Linked DNA regions of Homo sapiens: region 2 is linked to region 1. Evidence: promoter capture Hi-C in human tissues and cell types (Jung and others, 2019). All regions are on one chromosome and are shown on one strand. Each heading gives the region's core, a stretch centred on a gene start or on the middle of the fragment in contact. The rest is flanking DNA. Distances are from core to core; before and after follow the strand shown.

The links. The method cuts DNA at HindIII sites, captures the fragments that hold promoters and counts their contacts. A contact is called where the count stands out against the background at its distance.
Region 2: a fragment that was not itself captured here is called in contact with the fragment with the promoter of FSIP1 in region 1 in 1 of the 25 tissues and cell types used here (lymphoblastoid cells).

Annotation. Positions count from the first base shown.
Region 1 is chr15:39,781,029-39,784,501 of GRCh38, forward strand. FSIP1 (fibrous sheath interacting protein 1) reads right to left here and starts at 1,813. Exons shown (of 12, transcript NM_152597.5): 1 at 1,600-1,813. LOC105370941 (a long non-coding RNA gene) reads left to right here and starts at 1,878. Exons shown (of 1, transcript NR_135665.1): 1 at 1,878-3,473. RefSeq lists a silencer at 1,443-1,622 and an enhancer at 1,923-2,052. The HindIII fragment of the contact is 15,521 bases long and covers 1-3,473 here.
Region 2 is chr15:39,426,366-39,429,838 of GRCh38, forward strand. No RefSeq gene overlaps it. Among named protein-coding and RNA genes, the nearest start is that of THBS1, 150 kb to the right of the region's middle. The HindIII fragment of the contact is 3,298 bases long and covers 1-3,277 here.

The DNA of each region.
Region 1 (3,473 bases), core at 563-3,062:
GATGTTAAGACAAGGAAAACAAAACCCAAAGACTAGGAGCAAATATTTGCAAAACACATATCTGACAAAGGACTCATATCCAGAATATATAAACAAGTATCAAGACTCAATAACAAGAAAACAAAGGATTTGGACACACACATCACCCCAGATGATGTACGGATGGCAAAAGAGCACATGAAAAGATGTTCAACATCATTACCCCTCAAAAAAATAAAATAAAAATCACAATGAGATACCACTACACACCTATTCAAATGACAAAAATTAATTTTTTAGAAAACTGACAATACCAAGTGCTGACAAAGTTGGAGAGCAACTGTAACACTCATATTGCCAATGACAATGCAAAATCATCACTTTTCAAAACTGCTTAGCAGTTTCTTATAAAGTTAAACATATATTTACCATATGACTCCACAATCTCATTCATATTTACCCAAGAAATGAAAACATATTCACACACACAAAAAAAAACCTGTACATGAATATTTATACCAGCTTCATCAATAATAGCCAACAACTGGAAAGAACTCATCCAAATATGCCTCAAGTAGGAAATGGATAAATATACTACCGTAGATCCATACAATGGACTATTACTCAGCAACATAAAGGAACAACTGATACACAGAACATGAATGAATAGCAACTGCATGATGCTAAGCTGAAAGAAGCCTGATTCAAAAGGCCACAGGGTGTTTGCTTCCATCAATATGACATTCTGGAATAGGCAAAATTACAGGAACAAAAAACTAGGAAGTTGTTGCCAGGGATGGCGTTAGGGGAGGGATTAAATACAAAGAGCACTAGGGAATTTGGGGTTCATGATGAAACTTCCGTATGCTGATTGTGGTGGTTGGTAATTACATAACTGTATACATTTGTCAAAACTCACAGAACTGTAGATTAAATGGGTGAGGCTTACCATAAGTAAGTTATACCTCAATTTTAAGTTAATATATTTGTGCCAATCTTTCTTTAGTTATGCTCATACATCCATAAAATATATTAGAATTGCTGAGTCAAAGAACACTTATGTTTCAAATTTTGGTAGTTCGCCAAATTGTACTCCAAAAAGGCTGCACCAAATTACACTACTTCCCCTACACTGGGCTGGGGCCCATCTGGTTATGTCAAAGCTGTTTCATCTTCTCCAGTCTCATAGGTGTAAAAGGTATCTGTGAATTTGGTTTACATTTCTTCACGAGAAAAGTTGAGTCTCTAATCAATTGTTTGCTGTTTGCATCTTTTTATTTTTCCTGTGAAATGCCTATTTGCATCCTTTGCCGTTTACGGTCTAGTTTAAATGGCTGGTGATCAGTTCTAGATCTTGGTGGGAAGATCCAAATCTCGGGAAAGTAGAAGCCTTGGTTACAGGTCCTAATGTTAGGTGATTCCTGGAGAAATAGCCTCCGCGGAGGCAGAAGCCGCTGGGGCCCCGCCCCCAATGAGCCCGCCCCCGCCCTCTCATTGGCCCTGTCCGCTCTCCCTGACAGTCCATCTACATGCCAAGCGGCCCGACGCAGCTCCGCCCCGCCCACTCCTCGGCGCACCGCCCCGCGACCGAGCTCCGCCCTCATCTGCGCGGCCCCTCACCTTCCCGCCGGGCCTCCTCGAGGAACTGGCCGCCGTCAGTCAGGGCGCAGATGGCCGCAGAAGCGCGCCGCAGACACTCGCCGCGCCAGCCACTTACCCCCAGAGGAGAGGGGTCTCTCCCGCCACCTCAGCCTCTCTGGTAGTGGAAGAAGCCGCCGGTCCAGATCCCTCCTGCCTGTGGGACCGCTGTTTCCCTGGCAACCAGATGCGCGATGCTTCCGGTCTCGCGATAGCGGAAAGGGCTGTACCATCCGGAAATGGGACCGGGGCCGGCGGCTGTTGGAGCCCTGCGAGCTGGGACGGCCGGCGTGTGTCCTTCCGTCTTCGCTGCCGACGGTGGGGGTTGGGAGCGATTTTTCGTCTTTAGGTTGGATTCGGAACGCGGACGTCTGGATGCTTGTGTATCTCTGTCCCTCATATTGCTGTGATGCCTTACAGGTCAGTTATCCTCTCCGAGCACAGTTTCCTCCTCCGTAAAATGGGAACAATAATAATTCCCTTCTTACAAGACTTGTGCAGCTCAAAAAGACCATGTATGTGAAGCTCTAGTAAATTTGGGGTGCTATGGAAATTTTAAAAATATGAGTTTTGCACAGATTCGGCTACAGTCCAAAAAGAGTTATAATTGCTTTTTGCACCTTCTTTCATTTCGTAGTTTCTCTAATTCTCAGTGCACGAAAATTATTTCCCTACGTCCACAAACTGATTTTCCTCACCTCCATTGCCATCATTTCTCCTGCTTTCCAGTCTGAACAGCACATTACCGTTTACAGGGCATTTTCACATTCATGGCCCCTTTGTCCTCATTGTTTTAACTAGGTACGATGTGGTTTTTTTTCAGCGAAGCAAATAGTCGTAGGCTGAGTTGCCGAAAGAACACAGCTGCAGTCTAGGCGAGTGCTGGGTATAAAAACCTGGCTATAAATGCCATCCCTATGCTCCTGAATCCTGCATCTTATCACCAGCCCAGACTTCCCTGAACTCCAGACTCCTTTACCTAACTGCCTATTTGGCATATCCACTTAGATGTGTAAGCATCTCAAACTTAACACGGGAAAAAACAACTTCTCCAGAGTCCCCCACCCACTTTCTATCCATCTCAGCAAATGGTAATTTCAGCCTGCCATGCCTAGACCAAAAACCTTGGAGTCATCCTCAATTCTTCTTCCTCTCTCACTCTACAATCTATTTGTCCTATCAGCTCAACATTCAAAATATATTCAGAATCCAAACATTCGTCACAACTTCAGTGCTTCCATTCAGGTTCATACTGACATCATCTCTAAATGATAAGGCTTTCTGTTGGCTCTCTGACCTCCACTCCTACCTACTGCTTTCCCCTGGTAAACCTGGTTCCAGCCTCACTGTCCTCATTGTTAGTGTTTCTGTGCAGGGATTTCTTCCCAGCATTTCTCAGGGAATTTATGTGGCTTTCCAAATCTCAAAAGAAAAAAAGTTGCAAACTGAAGAAAATGGGAGAAAGTATCCTAATCCTCCTATGAGAATTAAAACTTAGCAGCCGACCTAGAGATGTTACTGAAGAAATTCACCAATGTCAAGTTGAAAACCAGCACAGGAAATGCTGAGTTCGAGGTTGAGGTGAACATTTTCAGGAACCAGGTCAGGAGCACTTGGGAGAGACATGGCCACAATCTCATCAGTCAGTCTTGTTTGTAGTTGGTGCCATGAAAGCCTATGTTCCTGGCCCTGTGTGCCGCTGGCAGTGAGTCATTCTTGCAAATAAAATATAAATAGGTTGATACTCATTGTATACTTTATACAAATTCTATGAGCAGTGTTCAAAAAAGTAACGGGTTTTGGATTCAAAGTAAATCCTTAAATTGACAGTTTCCAACCCATGATTCTGGGTAGTA
Region 2 (3,473 bases), core at 379-2,878, 350 kb before region 1:
AATTGAACAATGAGATCACATGGACACAGGAAGGGGAATATCACACTCTGGGGACTGTGGTGGGGTGGTGGGAGGGGGGAGGGATAGCATTGGGAGATATACCTAATGCTAGATGACGAGTTGGTGGGTGCAGCGCACCGGCATGGCACATGTATACATATGTAACTAACCTGCACAATGTGCACATGAACCCTAAAACTTAAATTTAAAAAAAAAAAAAAAAGACATGTAATGCCTAGCAGTGACAGCAGAAGAGAAGTGAAAAAAAGAGTTTCTTTCTTCCGTTCAGCAAATATTTACCAAGTGCCAAAATGCCCAAAGTGGTGCACTAGGCACTGTGTGTGTGGGATGGGATGGACTGGGGAGACATCGCCAATGAATTCATAAGGCTCTTGTCCTCAGGGAACTCACCATCTGATAGAGGGGCACAGACCTTCTCTCCAATGCCTAGGACAATCATGGGGTGGAAGGTGCTCAAATTGAATCAAAAAAGACCAAAGTGACCCAGAGCTCACTTTTATGTCTTACACCAGCCAGCCCACAAGAGGAAGTGAATTTCAGAAGTGAATTCCAAACACAAAGATATGTATAAATGATATGGCATGGGAATTGCTGGTGTTTTAACTTTATTTTCCCTGACTGTTCGACATAGAATTGTGTTTGAGTTTGTTCAGTTCTGGCTGTAAATAGCATCTGTCAACCGCGTAACTTTTAGTATCATCAGTGACAGACCTGTAGCATCAGGCTAGAGTGCGTGCGGCTGTGGCAGCGTCTTCCAGTCCTCTGGGCTCTAAGTCTCTGCTCTGCCCATTCTGGTTGCTCTCTACGGCTGGTGCCAAATGGTTCCCGTCGCTTGGCAACAGACAGCCTGCAGTGATCTGGGTCTCGTGTCTGAGGCTGAACTAGGGACCACCCTGAATCATCTAGGGAGAGAATACAAGAACGGAGGGACTGCCCCTCACCCCAGCTTTCCTGTGGTTAACCAAACCCCTAGCTGTGTTTCCGCAACTAGCAACACCCGCTGCATTTGTCATCACAGCTGCACACGTGCCGCCGCCTTTGACAAAGACATGGTATCTGTAGCATACTTTCTGGGAAATGCTGTCTGAAGGTGCTGCATCACTGACACTTGCCGTCCAACTTGAATTGTGTAAGAAGTATTAGGCATTTTAGAAGCTCATGCAGAGACTCTGGGCTTTCTCATAAGCTAACACAAGCAGAAAAATCTACCTGCTCAGGCTCTTTTCTAAGCCAAGGATGCCAGAATTCCAACCAATTTCTGCTTTGGCCAAAGAGTATCTCAATTGCATGCTGACAAGAGCTTCAGCACAGCTACCCATCTTCATTTTCAAAACGTAGGTGCATCTAGCTCAGAAGGATAGGGTCCTGGAGACCCAGGAGAGAAAAGACAGATCCTCTGAATGTCAGAATAGGACCTTTTTCCCTGTCCTTGTGCTGTCAGCCTGACTCTCTGAGCCACAGCTCCAAGAACAGCCCTGGGGTTATAGAGGTGCAGGGCTTCTAGATAAGAAGCCAGAACAGACAGTCCCCTCTGTGTCATTTGTCGTTACACAATATCCTAACCTCACGCCTCTAGGGGGGCAGCCCAGCAAAGCCAGCAATAGCCAGAGACTGCTGGCTCTTTCTGAGCCACTCATGGTTTCAAGGTGTCCCAGATTTTAAGAGGCTGAATTTTCTTTATGCTTCCTGAGTGCTTCTATCTCTCCACTTTAACATTGACATATGCATGTATTGCAGTAATATTATTTATTCAAATCTACCATGTTCTGGGCACTGGAACAGTGCCTGGAACTGTTGCTGGAACTGTTACAGTGCCTGGAACTTCTTAGAGTATTATGTATTCAAAGTAATATCATTTATTCAACAAACAATATTATATAACTCCTTCTAGGGCTTACATTCTAATGGGGGAGCACACGATAAACAAATAATAAATGACAGTAAAATAAAACAAATAATCACATATGAAGAGGTCCTCTGTGCAGGATGTGAGGACCAACGTTTGAGCACTGGCTCTGACATAGAGTATGTGGAACCCTTATTCGCTCATGCAATCCCCAGGGAAATCCTCTTAGGAGGTACTATTAAGCTTCACTTGACAAATAGGAAAACTGAAGTCCAGACTACACAGCCTAAAAATAGTAGAACACAAATTTGAACCTGGGTCTGATGCCCAAGATCCATTATCATTCCACTTCACCATCTCTCCCCCTGAAGCAAGGTCAAGAGACAAGGAGAAGGAAGGCCAGGACTTTGAGCCTTTCCACCTCATGCAAGAGTGTCCTCTGAGCCTCCACTGCTCAACTCAAGCACGTGTTTTTAAACATTCCAAAGCACTCCCAGTTGCAAAGGAGATGTTGTAGGATGTTAGGTCTCAGCACAAGGAACCCAAACCTTCAGGGGCTCTCCTCTACATTATGCTCCCATTTTTCTCCCAAAATATCGATCTCCACCCACCCTAGACATAGAACTGGAGAATAAGTTCCAGTTTCATCCCTTTGCAGATCTTAGGGGGACCCATCAAATTCCCAGCCACTGGGTGAAAATCAGCAGCTTCTTTATAGGACCTGAGTTGCCTTCCTAGAGGATCCTAGAGGAAAAAAAAAAATCTTATCCTTCAAATACTGCTGTCTTCCAAAATACGTAAGGACGCCACGGTGAATCATAGTGGACACCCTGCATTGGTTGGGTTATTATTTATCCTAGAAGCTTGGGTTCTTGGAGCCCTAGCTTATTTAAGCAACAAAGTCCCTCACAGCCCACAGGTGAGGAAGTGAGTGTAACAAAGAGATCATTGGACCTAAAATCAAAACACCTGTCAAATCCCGGTTCTGCCACTTACTAGTTATGATCTTGAGCCAGAGACTTAATTTCTTTGAGCCTCAGATTCCTTTCTGTAAAATAAACAGTTGTGTGACTTACCTTACAAGGATCATTGTAAAAGGAAAGAAGACCTATGTAAGATTCTGTGTTGAAAGAGCTCAGTACATAATCATGTATTTTAAAAATTAGATGTGGCTTTAATTTTTAAATTTTTCTCATTAAATTTGACAGCAAATTATGTTACTTGGCTATGAATTTAAACCTTGCTTACGTCTCTTATTTCTGGGAAAAAACAAAAAACACCTGCAAGGTTATCCCACTGCTGATTCCTGAGGGGAGGTCCCTCAAGGGCACATAAGGTGACAACTCCTCCAGCATGGACAACAGCCACCCAGAGATGCCAGGGAAGAATAGAGGGAACTCTCTTCTTTTTCCAACTTTCCACGTAATTTGTAATTGTTGTTTAAACTCTCAATCCTCCTGGTGATATGATAGGCTCAACTTTCCAAGATACTGAAGTTGAAAGAGTTTAAAAAAAAAAAAAAAAAAGGTATAACCAGGAAAGTTAGCTTTAATAATCTCCATTCCAGACATTTTAACCCACTTGAAAGGGGTAATACTTACCCCCC